Linked DNA regions of Homo sapiens: region 1 is linked to region 2. The links are contacts of gene promoters, found by promoter capture Hi-C in human tissues and cell types (Jung and others, 2019). All regions are on one chromosome and are shown on one strand. Each heading gives the region's core, a stretch centred on a gene start or on the middle of the fragment in contact. The rest is flanking DNA. Distances are from core to core; before and after follow the strand shown. Region 1 overlaps LOC124900418 (collagen alpha-1(I) chain-like). Region 2 holds the start of BRD4 (bromodomain containing 4).

The links. Contacts are between HindIII fragments. The study calls those that stand out against the background at their distance.
Region 1: a contact is called between a fragment that was not itself captured here and the fragment with the promoter of BRD4 in region 2, in 1 of the 25 tissues and cell types used here (dorsolateral prefrontal cortex).

Annotation. Positions count from the first base shown.
Region 1 is chr19:15,831,663-15,837,481 of GRCh38, reverse strand. It overlaps LOC124900418 (collagen alpha-1(I) chain-like), which reads right to left. Exons shown (of 3, transcript XM_047439793.1): 3 at 102-2,264. The coding sequence starts at 1,080. The coding sequence ends at 475. UCA1 (urothelial cancer associated 1) reads right to left here. Exons shown (of 3, transcript NR_015379.3): 3 at 1,161-2,980. Among named protein-coding and RNA genes, the nearest start is that of UCA1, 5.6 kb to the right of the region's middle. RefSeq lists enhancers at 45-194, 335-564, 1,345-2,544 and a silencer at 695-914. The HindIII fragment of the contact is 5,632 bases long and covers 1,087-5,819 here.
Region 2 is chr19:15,331,169-15,337,280 of GRCh38, reverse strand. BRD4 (bromodomain containing 4) reads left to right here and starts at 4,742. Exons shown (of 20, transcript NM_001379291.1): 1 at 4,742-4,991. It overlaps LOC124904643 (a long non-coding RNA gene), which reads right to left and starts at 4,668. Exons shown (of 4, transcript XR_007067146.1): 1 at 4,633-4,668; 2 at 676-789. RefSeq lists silencers at 4,433-4,502, 4,643-4,742, 4,973-5,202, 5,403-5,502, 5,533-5,682 and 2 more and an enhancer at 3,860-4,476. The HindIII fragment of the contact is 25,776 bases long and covers 1-6,112 here.

The sequences.
Region 1 (5,819 bases), core at 2,653-5,152, 500 kb before region 2:
TTGCTCGGTGTACGCTCGTGGCAAAACTGCTGGCGAGTGTACCCTTTCTGCAGGGAGTAAAAATGGCCTTGCTAAATAAATTAATGTTAAAGTGCTATTTCTTTATGGCACCAAAAACCAAGCATTTCAAACACTATTTATTCTTAATTAGATGAAGAAGGAAGTCTTTGAAGAAGAACCTCTACTTTTCTTTTTACATCCTGACACGAGGAAGACAACAAGCCCAGTTGCCAGGAACCGCCCATTTGGGCTCCACGCAGCCAAGTGTCTTCTCGGGTCTCCTGTCTTTCTAACCCCAGGGGGCGGGACCTGAAGCGGTATCCAATCAGGGGCACTAGGGGCCGTACTAACTATCCAATCAGGAGCGTAGCCGTAGCCGGGGGACGTGGCGGGCTGTGGAAGCTTCAGTTTCTGGCGGTTTCTTTGTTTTTTGGGGTTTGGGGTCTTTGCTGCTCGCGCAGGCCCTCCTCCCCTCTAATCCCCGTCGCCGCCCCTCTGCGACGTGAGCAGGCCCAGGGGAGGACGCCGGGACACCCGGAAGCCGGAAATGCTGAGTGTGCGGGGCCGGACGTCCCGAGACCGGAGGAGGAGCTGGTGGAACCAGCCGGATCTGGCTGTGGCGGGACCCGGGCCTGTCCGCTGCGACTCCGGGGTCTGGGACCCGAGTTCCCCTGGAGCAGCTCGGCCCTCGGTCCTCTCGGCCGCAGGGTGGGGCTGGGCCGGCAGCTGGGACTCCGGGAGTCCTGTCCTGTCCCTGCGCAGTGACTGTCGCCCCAGAGCCCTCTCTGGGCAGCTCCGCATCTCCCCAGATTGTGCGGGGGCCACGGGAGGATCATGGGGGGATCCCGCCTCCGGCCTGGGGATCCTGTGGGAGGAGCCATGGCCTGTGGGCTCCCCAGTCCCGCCTTTCCCCCCGAAGGCGGCCCCCGCTTCTCCCTGAGTCTTCCAAAAGGTGTGCGAAGCCGGGTCTCCGCGACCCGGTCCCCCAGCCTCGCTCCCCCTTGGGCTGGCCGTAAATCTTGTAATGAACGTTTCCCTCCCCGCATTCTCTAACGCCAGCGTCTCCACTGCAATCCACATGGTTCTCAACTGTTAGTCCCTTTGTTGTACGTTTCAAATCGACGTGGCATTTAAATGATCATCGTTCCACAGAGCAGTGGCTGACTCTTTTAGGAAGATTTCTTTTCTGTCACCTTTTCACATATAAGGAAAGGAAAGGAAAACCACATGAAACGCCTCTGTTTACAAAAGCCTTTGTGCCGCTACTTTTATCTTAGACACCTCATCAGACTGCCTTTGGGTTGAGGTTCCTGTCACGCGTGTCCGTATAGAAGACACCCAATCAGGCTTTGTGTGAGCAACAAGGCTGTTAATTCACTTGGGTGCAAGTGGGCTGAGTCCGAAAAGAGAGTCAGTGAAGGGAGATAGGAGAGGGGCAGCTTTATAGGGCTTGGGTAGGCGTGGAAAGTTACAGTTAAAGGTGGTTATCCTCAGCAGAGGAGGGGGTCACAAGGTGCATGGTGGAGAGATGATGGGACTCATTGTCCAGGAGAAGAATGTCACAGGGTTGATTGATCAGTTGGGGCAGGGCAGGAACAAGTCATAATGGTGGACAAGTCATAATGGTGGAATGTCGTAAGGTGGGTTAATTAGTTAAGGCAGGAACTGGCTGTTTCACTTCTTTGTGGTTTTTCGGCTGCTCCAGACTTCTTGGCTCCTGCAGGCCACCTGGACGGATATGTGCAGGTCACAGGGGTTACAATGGCTAAGCTTCAGCTCACAGGCCTGACATTTTTGTCTTTTTATTTATAAAATATGAAGTTGTAGGAAAAGATTAAAAAAAAGTGTAAGTTCCTTCTGGGGATTACTGGGGTAGGGCTGATATTTCTCCGGACTGCTTCAAGTGTGACCAGGGACTGCGTGGACACCTTAAAGAAAATTTTATAATGAGTCTAGTAAGTTTCGGGTCTAGGGTGCATTTTTATGTAGCTAACAAGGTGCCAGTTAGCGTATTTTTGAGCTTGGAACTGCCCTAATAAAATAAGTTCTCTAAAAACAGTAATCAGGCATATTAGCTTTAATGTAGGTGGCGATGAGTTTTTAGGCCAAGGAAGGAATAATGTTTTATGTACCAAAGCCTTTTGTCCCCATTTTCCATCATACGAATAGTATTCCCTGTTGCTAAGCCGATGATACATTACCCTTTTCCCATAGGTGTGAGTGGCGGTCTGAATGGAGAAGTTCAATAGTTCTGATTGCAGATCCTATGCAGAAGAGATAATAAGGAAAATAATCTTTGTCTCCTGGATTAAGCTGAGGCTGGCAAAGAGTGAAATGTCCCAAGCCCTCTAACAACAAACAACATACTTTGTGTTGTCCTGGATGCTGGTCTGGTTGCCAAATATGTGGAACTGGCCCCATATGCGTGTACTGTTGTCCATTTCATGAGAGTAGGCTTGAGGACACCATGGGCAAGGATCTGATGGTTGCCAGCCTAAGCGTTTTAGACTTTTGACCCAGAGATTTTTTGTTTTGGGTGTGGAAAAAATTTTAGAGGATAGGGTCTCAAGATATAATCCTTTTTATAGGCGGCAGGTCTTAAGAGATGAGGGTCCAGAGGAACGGATGAAGCCTGCTTGGAAGCATGCTGGGATGGCCATTTGGAAGGAGTGTTGCAAGGAAGCATGGCCTTGGCTGGGCGCTGCCAGGAGCTTAAGGGTTGTAGGTTGTTTGTCTGATCGGCTCTCGGCCTAATCTTGTGGCTTCCAGGAGGAAGAGGAGAGATCAAGCTGGCTGTCTGATGGGCATGGCTTTATTCTGGAATGGTGAACCCAATGGAGAGGGTCCTGCAGATGGACGGCAGTTGGTGTGCTATAAATGACCGGGTAGGGTCTGGTCCATTGAGGCTGTAGAGTTTGAGGGGTCAGACTTTTGACAAGGACTGATCGTCCAGCTAGGGTGTCTTCATATGGCTGGGAATCTGGAGTAGGCAAGAGAAGATTAGCAGCTTGGCAAATTTCCTGTCTAGCCTGCTAGAGGACTGGAAGATAGTTGCCCAGGGGGCTGGTGTCTGGAACAAGATTGTGGCTGAGTAAGAAGGTGCATCCATATAAAATTGAAATGGGTTGTACCCTGTGGCTTCTCAAGGACAGGCCCTAATTCTGAGGAGGGCAAGTGGTAAAAGTACTGTCCAGTCCTTTTTAAGTTGGAGGCTGAGCTTGGTGAGGTGTGTTTTTAAAAGACCATTCATCCGTTCTACCTTTCCTGAAGATTGAGGACGGTAGGGGGTATGAAGTTTCCACTGAATACCAAGAGCCTGAGAAACTGTGGAAGTAGGGAGGCCAAATTGGGGGATTATATCTGTCAGAAGGGAAGAAATGACTGTAGTAGCCTTTCAGAGCTAGTGGGAAAGGCCTCGACCCATCCGGTGAAGGTATTGGCCCAAACCAGGAGATATTTAAATTTACAGACACGCGGCATATGAATAAAGTCAATTTGCCAATCTTGTGTCGGAGGAAATCCATGAGCCTGATGCGTAGGAAAAGGAGGAGGCCTGAGAAGACCTCGGGGGTTGGTGGCATGGCAGACAGAGCATTGAGAGGTGATGGTTTTAAGGATGGATTTCCATGATGGGATGGAAATGAGGGGCTGTAGGAGGCCAGCCAGAGGCTTATATCCTATATGGAAATGGTCATGAAGGGAAGAGAGAGTAGACTGGGCTTGTGAGGCAGGAAGAACGAATTTTCCATGATCTAAGAACCACTTGCCCTGAGTTGGAAAAGACTGGTAGAGCAGGTTTTTTAGAAGAGGAGTAGGTGGGGGTGATAGAGAAGAAAGAAAAGTACTAGCCTTTTGGGGTGAGGGCTAGAATATTTGCAGGCGTGGAGGCATTTGCTGTTTCTTTTGCTGTCCTGTTGGCGTAGGCATTTCCTTTAGCAATAAGATCAGTTGGTTTCTGGTGTCCTTTACAATGAATGAACCCAGCTTTGGCCAGCAAGAGAGCAGCATTAAGGAGGGCCTTTATTAGAGAGGTATTGATAATGGAAGAGCCTTGTGTGGTGAGAAAACCTCTTTCAGTCCAAAGGGTAGCATGGTTGTGGAGGATGTGGAAAGCATATTAGGAGTCAATATAAATTTTAATGTGCATTCCTTTGGCGACAGAGAGTGCACAAGTTAAAGCAATCAGTTTGGCTTGTTGGGAAGTAGTGGAGGGAGGAAGTGCAGCAGCCTCAATAATAGAGGTATGGGACACGACAGCATAACCAGCTTTAGCTGGCGAGATTTGACTGGGTTTAGAGGAACTGCCATGAATAAACCAAGTGTGGTCTGGATTTGGGATTGGAAAAATAGAAATATGAGGAAAGGGGGAAGATGCTATGTGTATTAGGGAGATACAATCATGTTGGCCAGGACTTGTGTTGGGTGCTAAGTGAGAAGCTGGGTTGAAATCGGGCCCATGGGCAGTAGTTATTGTTGGGGTTTCAATAAAGAGTGAATAGAGCTGGAGATGTCGAGGGGCAGACAGCAAGTGTGAAAGGTGTGAGGAGGATATTAATGCTTGAAGGTTGTGAGAACTGTAGAGGGTAAGTGGAGCATAGCCTGTGATTTTGAGAGACTCTGGAAGTGTTAAAGCGGCAGCTGCCACCACATGTAGACATGAGGGCCAGCCTAGAATTGTGAGGTCAAGTTGTTTGGATAGAAAGGCTATAGGTCGTGGGCCTGGCTCCTGTGTGAGAACTCCAGCAGCACAGCCTTGTGTTTCAGCTGTGTGTAAGGAAAAAGGTTGGGACAAGTCAGGGAGTGCTAGTGTGGGAGCTGTTTCTAGGGCCTTTTTGAGAGAATGAAAGGAAGCATGGGGAAAGGACTTATGGTCTATGGGATCAGCTAAATTACCTTTAGTGAGTTTGTAAAGCAGTTTGGTTAGAATGGCAAAACCTTGGTACCCAGAGTCGGAAGTATCCAACAACGCCTAAGAAGGAAAGGAGTTGTTGTTTGGTGGTGGGGAATAGGGTCTGGGAGATTAACTGAACACAGTCTGCAGGAAGAGTGCGTGTATGTTGATGGAGGACTATGTCGAGATATGTAACACTAGGGGAGGAAATATGAGCTTTAGAGGGGGATACTCAGTACCCCTTTGAGTAGAGATATTGAAGAAGTAGGATAGGATAGTGTCCTGCTGGGAAGATTGGTAAGAAGGGCTGCAAAGAAGAAGGTCTTCAACATATTGAATAAGGTGGGAGGCAGATGGGCAGAAAGAAAGTCATGAGAGAGGGCCTGACCAAAGTAGTGTGGGCTGTCCCTGAAACTTTGGGGTCGGACAATCCAGGTGAATTGCTGGGACTGGTGGGTGTCAGGGTCAGTCCAAGTAAAGGTGAAAAGAGGTTGGGAGGAGGGATGCAAGGGGATGGTAAAGAAGGCATCTTTGAGGTGGATAACAGAATAATGAGTTGTGGAAGGGGGTGTCGAGGAGAGGAGAGTATAGGGTTTGGCACAACAGGATGGATGGGAAGGACAATCTGATTTATGAGGTGAAGGTCTTGAACTAGCCTCTAGGACTTGTCCGGTTTCTGGATGGGTAGGATAGGGGAGTTGTAAGGAGAATTTGTAGGCTTCAAAAGGCCACGTTGTAACAGGCAAGTGATAACAGGCTTCAGTTCCCTTTAAAGCCTGCTGCGGGCTGGGATACTGGTATTGAGCAGGGTAAGGGTGATTAGGTTTTAATGGAATGGTAAGGAGTGCATGGTCAGTTGCCAAAGAAAGAGTAGAAGTATCCTATACTTGAGGATTAAGGTGGGGAGATACAAGGGGAGGATGCGAAA
Region 2 (6,112 bases), core at 3,493-5,992:
CCCAAACGATTTTTGGAGACAGCTTTTGGAACTGCCTTTACAGCCTGAATATTTTTTCCAGGTTGGATTTAATTTGTAGCAATGGCCAAAAGCCACCTAGTTCGGTCTAGTTATCAATCTAGATATATAGTTTTGTCTAATGTTAAGTGTGACTCTACAGTAAAGTGAGGGCTTTTATTATGTGATTTGCAAACCAACAGTTCCAAATTACTTCCAAAAACATTTATTGTCAACAACAATGATAATTTTTTTTTTTCGAGATGGAGCCTCGCTCTGTCCACCCAGGCTGGAGTGCAGTGGCACGATCTCGGCTCACTGCAACCTCCACCTCCCGGGTTCATGACATTCTCCTGCCTCAACCTCCCGAGTAGCTGGGACTACAGGCACTCACCACCATGTCTGGCTAATTTTTGTATTTTTAGTAGAGATGGGGTTTCACCATGTTAGCCAGGATAGTCTCGATCTCCTGACCTCGTGATCTGCCCGCCTCAGCCTCCCAAAGTTCTGGGATTACAGGCGTGAGCCACCGCGCCTGGCCAACAATGATAAATTAAGTGGATAATGCAGCAAGACAAGATAACTATAGGGAAGGAGAGCTTAAAATAGATACATTCTGGTTTCCTTAAAAAAACAAACAAACAAAAAACCCAGTAACAACAAACCAGTTGTTAATACCTATTCACAAAGCCCTGGGTACCCTCCTGCTCTTTTTCCATTTCTGATCATCTTCTGCATAATTGCCAGGGGTGCAAAATTAGGAGCCAGAAGATATTCACAAATTTCAATATTCTGTAATACAGAGTTAGAAGGAAGTTTCAATGAAGGAGTTACAATTACATCCTTTATTTCTTGCAGCTAATAACTTGTTTTCTCATGCTTTGTTAAAAATAAAGGGTTAGGCCAAGGCAGAAGAATCACTTGAGGCCAAGAGTTTGAGATCAGCTTGGCCAAGACAGTGAGATCCTATGGCTACAAATTTTTTTTTTTTTCGAGACAGAGTCTTGCTCTGTCACCCAGGCTGGAGTCCAGTGGTGCGACCTTGGCTCACTGCAACCTCCACCTCTTAAGCAGGCTCAAGTGATTATCCTGCCTCAGCCTCCCAAGTGGCTCAGATTACAGGCATGCAACACTATGCCTGGCTAATTTTTTTTTTTTTTTTTGAGACAGAGTTTGACTCTTGTTGCCCAGGCTGGAGTGCAATGGCGCGATCTCCGCTCACTACTGTATCCTCCACCTCCGCAATCTCTGCTCACTGCAACCTCCGCTTCCTGGGTTCAAGTGATTCTTCTGCCTCAGCCTCCTGAGTAGGTGGGATTACAGGCACCTGTCACCAAGCCCCGCAAATTTTTTCTATTTTTAGTACAGATGAGGTTTCACCACCTTGGCCAGGCTAGTTGTGAATTCCGGACCTCAGGTGATCCACCTGCCTCGGCCTCCCAAAGTGCTGAGATTACAGGCATGAGCCACTGCACCCGGCCTTTAATTTTTGTATTTGTAGTACAGACTAGTGTGTTCACCATGTTGGCCAGGCTGCTCTCAAACTACCGACCTCAGGTGATCCACCCGCCTCAGCCTCCCAAAGTACTGGCATTACAGGCGTGAGCCACTGCGCCCAGCCAACTACAATTTAAAAACTTAGCTGGGTGTAGTGGCACATGCCTGTAGTCCCAGCTACTCGGGAGGCTGAGGTGGGAGGATTGAATGAGCCTAGGAGGTCGAGGCTTCGGTGAACCATGAATGCAACACTGCACTCCAGCCTTTGGTGAACCATGAATGCAACACTGCACTCCAGCCTGGGCAACAGAGCAAGACCCTGTCATAAATGAATAAATTAATACATAGATACATGAATGAATGAAAAAATTTAATTTTTAACTTTGCTTAGGACCCATTAGTGATTTATGATTGCCCCTGGTTAAGCATGAGCAAACACATGATAGAAAAGAACTATTTTACTGGTATCCTATTATATCCATATATTCTGAAACCATGGGCCATCAGGAAATGTTTCATTACTTGGACTTAAAAAAAAAATACCACGCAGACTTTTTTGTTTTTTTTTTTGAGACGGAGTTTTGCCCTGTCACCCAGGCTGGAGTGCAGTGGCATGATCTTGGCTCACTGCAACCTCCACCTCCCAGGTTCAAGCGATTCTCCTGCCTCGGCCTCCTGAGTAGCTGGGACTACAGGTGCCCGCCACCACACCCGGCTAATTTTGTTTGTATTTTTAGTAGAGACGGGGTTTCACCATGTTGCCCAGGTTGGTCTCAAACTCCTGACCTCAGGTAATCTACCCGCATTGGCCTCCCAAAGTGCTAGGATTACAGGTGTGAGCCACTGTGCCTGGCCCCATGTAGACTTTTTAGAACTGAGTTTGCTTTCCTTTTTTTTTTTTTTTTTTTTTTGAGATGGAGTCTCACTGTCGCCCAGGCTGGAGTGGAGTGGCACGATCTCAGCTCACTGCCACCTCTGCCTCTTGGGTTCAAGTGATTCTCCTGCCTCAGCCTCCAAAGTAGCTAGGATTACAGGCACCCGCTACCATACCTGGCTAATTTTTATATTTTTAGTAGAGTCGAAGTTTCACCATGTTGGCCAGGCTGGTCTAGAACTCCTGACCTCAGGTGATCCACCTGCCTCGACCTCCCAAAGTGCTGGGATTACAGGTGTGAGCCACCGCGCCCAGCCTGCTTTCCATTTTTAAAAGATGGGAATACAAAATGCTAAGAGAATGGCCTGGGTGCGGTGGCTCACGCCTGTAGTTCCAGCACTTTGGGAGGCTGAGGGAGGTGGATCGCTTGAGCCCAGGAATTCAAGACCAGTCTGGGCAACATGGTGAGACCTCCTCTCCACAAAAATACAAAAATTAGCTGGGCACGGTGGCGCACACCTGTGGTCCCAGCTACTAAAGAGGCTGACGTGGGAGGATCACTTGAGACTGAGAGTTTGAGGTTACAGTGAGCTATGATCCAGCCACTGCACTCCAGCCTGGGTGACAGAGCAAGATCTTGTCTTAAAAAAAAAAATATATATATATATAAAAGGAAAGAGAAGTGGTTGTTTCCAGGTTTGAAAAATTTCACAGTATTATTTTAAGCTACAAGAGACATATGCCTAACTTCCTCCTTTTAGCAATCTCAAAACTACCCCATGTTTACTAAGCTCTTCCGTGGCCAGGTGGGGTGCTTTGGAAGCCCTAGAAGAGGTCATATGATGTTTTTTCCCCTCGGACTCACACATGTAGAGTAGGCACATACGTCCTGGAGCTGACTTAGGGTTGAGTCTTTTTCTTTTTTGGAGACAGAGCCTTGCTCTGTCGCCCAGGCTAGAGTGCAGTGGCACAATCTCGGCTCACTGCAACCTACGCCTCCCGGGTTCAAGTGATTCTTCTGCCTTAGCCTCCTGAGTAGCTGGCATTACAGGCATGGGATTACAGGCATGCGCCACCACACCCGGCTAATTTTTTTTTTTTTTTTTTGAGACGGAGTCTCGCTCTGTCGCACAGGCTGGAGTGCAGGGGCGCGATCTCCGCTCACAGCAAGCTCCGCCTCCCGGGTTCACGCCATTCTCCTGCCTCAGTCTCTCGAGTAGCTGGGACTACAGGCGCCCACCACCACACCCGGCTAATTTTTTGTATTTTTAGTAGAGACGGGGTTTCACCGTCTTAGCCAGGATGGTCTCGATCTCCTTACCTCGTGATCTGCCCGCCTCCCAAAGTGCTGGGATTACAGGCGTGAGCCACTGCGCCCGGCCCACACGGGGCTAATTTTTGTATTTTTAGTAGAGGCGAGGTTTCACTCTGTTGGCTAGGATGGTCTCCAACCCCTGGCCTCAAGCCAACCTCCTGCCTCTGCCTCCCAAAGTGCTGAGATTACAGGTGTGAGCCACCGAGCCTGGTCTGACTTGGGGTTGAGTCTTAAGGATGGGAAGGAGCTGGGCGCGGTGGCTCACGCCTGTAATACTAGCACTTTGGGAGGTCGAGGCAGGAGGATCGCTTGAGTCCAGGAGACAGAGACCAGCCTGGCCAACATCGTGAGATCCCATCTCTACAAAAAATAGTTAGCTGGGTGTGGTGGTGCACACCTGTAGTCCCAGCTACTTGGGAGGCTGAAGCAGGAGGATCGCTTGAGGCCAGCAGGTTGAGGCTGCAGTGAGCTATGACTGCACTACTGCACTCCAGCCTGGGGGACAGAGCAAGACCATGTCCCTTTTTTTAAAAAGGTGGGTTGGAAGAAGATCAACAGGGGGGCATAAGAGGAGAAAGGTGCTACCTCCCTGCCCAGGGGCAGCCAAGGAGGATCCGCCTCGGCCTTGCTCGCAGCCTCCTCTCACCTCCTTTCCTCCACTTCACCCCAGCCCCGGCGCCCCCATCGCAGCTCTCTCGCCTCAGCCTCCCTACCTGGGGTCCCCCCTTAGGGCTCTCTCCTCCGCCTCCTCCATCAGTCTGTGGGGTCCCTCCTCACCATCCTCCCTCCCTGTGAGGGTCTGTCTTCAGACCTTTCTTAGTATTTTGGATGTCTCTCTCAGCCTTCAGATCTTTTCCCGCAGGCCCAGCCTGCAGTCCGCCCGTTTCCCCCAGCCCGCTCCTTCGCTCTGCGGGGTCTCCTCCCTCAGTCCGCGGTATCCCCCACTCACCTCGCAGCCACTGTCTCTCCAGAGCTCGTTCGCGCTGGGCGCGGGGGCGGGGCGCGCACACCGGGCGGCGGCGGCGCGGGGCCGCGCGCGCAGCGTGCGCGGTGACGTCAGTGCGCTGGCGGCGGCGGCGGCGGCGGCGGCGGCGGCTGGGCTGTTTGTTCTGGTCTCCCGCAGCCGAGGAGCCGAAGCAGTGGCGGCGGCAGCGGCTGCGGCGGCTGCCGGCGGTGCCCGCGGGCGAGCGCGGCCTGTGAGCTCGGCAGAGCGGCGGGCGGGCCCCGGCGCCGCGCAGGCAGCTCGGGGAGGGGGCGGCGGCAGCGGGCGGACGGCCGGCGGGGGCGGCGTGCGGCCTAGCGTCTCAGGTGAGGACTGGTGCCCTTTGGGGCGGCGGACGACACTGGGCGGCTGGCGGAGGCTCGCGGCGCGGTCCGCGTAACCTGCATTGCGTAATGGGGCCGGGGCGCCGCCACCTACGCCATCCGCGCGGCGCGGGGGCGGGGAGGCCGGGGCTACGCGGGCTCGGGCCTGCGGGCCTCCCGCGCCGTTCGTTCCGGGCCGGGGCGGCCTGCGCCGTTGGTGTCGGGGCGGCGGGGTCGCTCGCGGCTGTCCTGCCTTTGGTGCCGTCGGACCCGGGCTTGGGCTGGCCGGCGGGGCGCGGGTGGGGGGCGCGGGCGCCGCGGCGGGGCCGGCGGTCGGGGGCGGGCGGGGGGCGGGCCGAGGCGCCCGGCACTTCCTGCCGCCGCCATTTTGTTAAGTGAGGAGGAGGAGGAGGAGGAGGAAGCGGCCGCCGCGGGGTCCGCGGCGCGCCCGGCCCGGGTAAGTCCCGGCCTGGCGCGGGGGCCGCGAGCGCAGCTGTCCCGGTCCGCGGTCCTCTAGGCGGGCTCGGCCGCGGCGCTCACGTGGGCCGGGGCCGGCGCGCTCTCCTTCTGGCACCCAGGTCGTTTTGCCTGGGCCGGGGCAGCGCGCCCCCACCCCCATCTCTTCACCTTCCCGGCGGTCCCCGGAGTGCTGCGGAGAAAGGGGCAGGTCCCCTGCGGAGGGAGGTGGCTGCGGCTGCACGCCGGTCTGAGGCCAGGCCTCAGGGCGGGAGCGGTGCCCTGGAGGCGAGCTTGGCCCGCTTGACGCACCCACTCTCAGCCTGGCAGCCCCTTGCTGGGCGCTTTGTTTTGCTCGGTCCGTGCTCGCCGGCGTCCTTGCAACGGCCTATTTTATTTGCAGTGTTGTGTGGTGGTGGTGATTGTGGTGATTTGGGGTGGGGATGTGGGGGAGTTGTGATTCAGCGAAATAAAATGATCCCCCTCCTCCCAAACGGAAATAGCATGGCTTCACTCGGCTGAGATGCCCCCAAGGCTTGGGTTTGCTTGAAGATGGGAAACCCCACTCTGTTGTAGTGGACGGTGTAAATACTTTAGTTCAGGCCGGTGCATGAGTCATGTGCTTCTCCTGGGTGGCTGACCTCCCTTTTACTCAAGACTACGCTTTG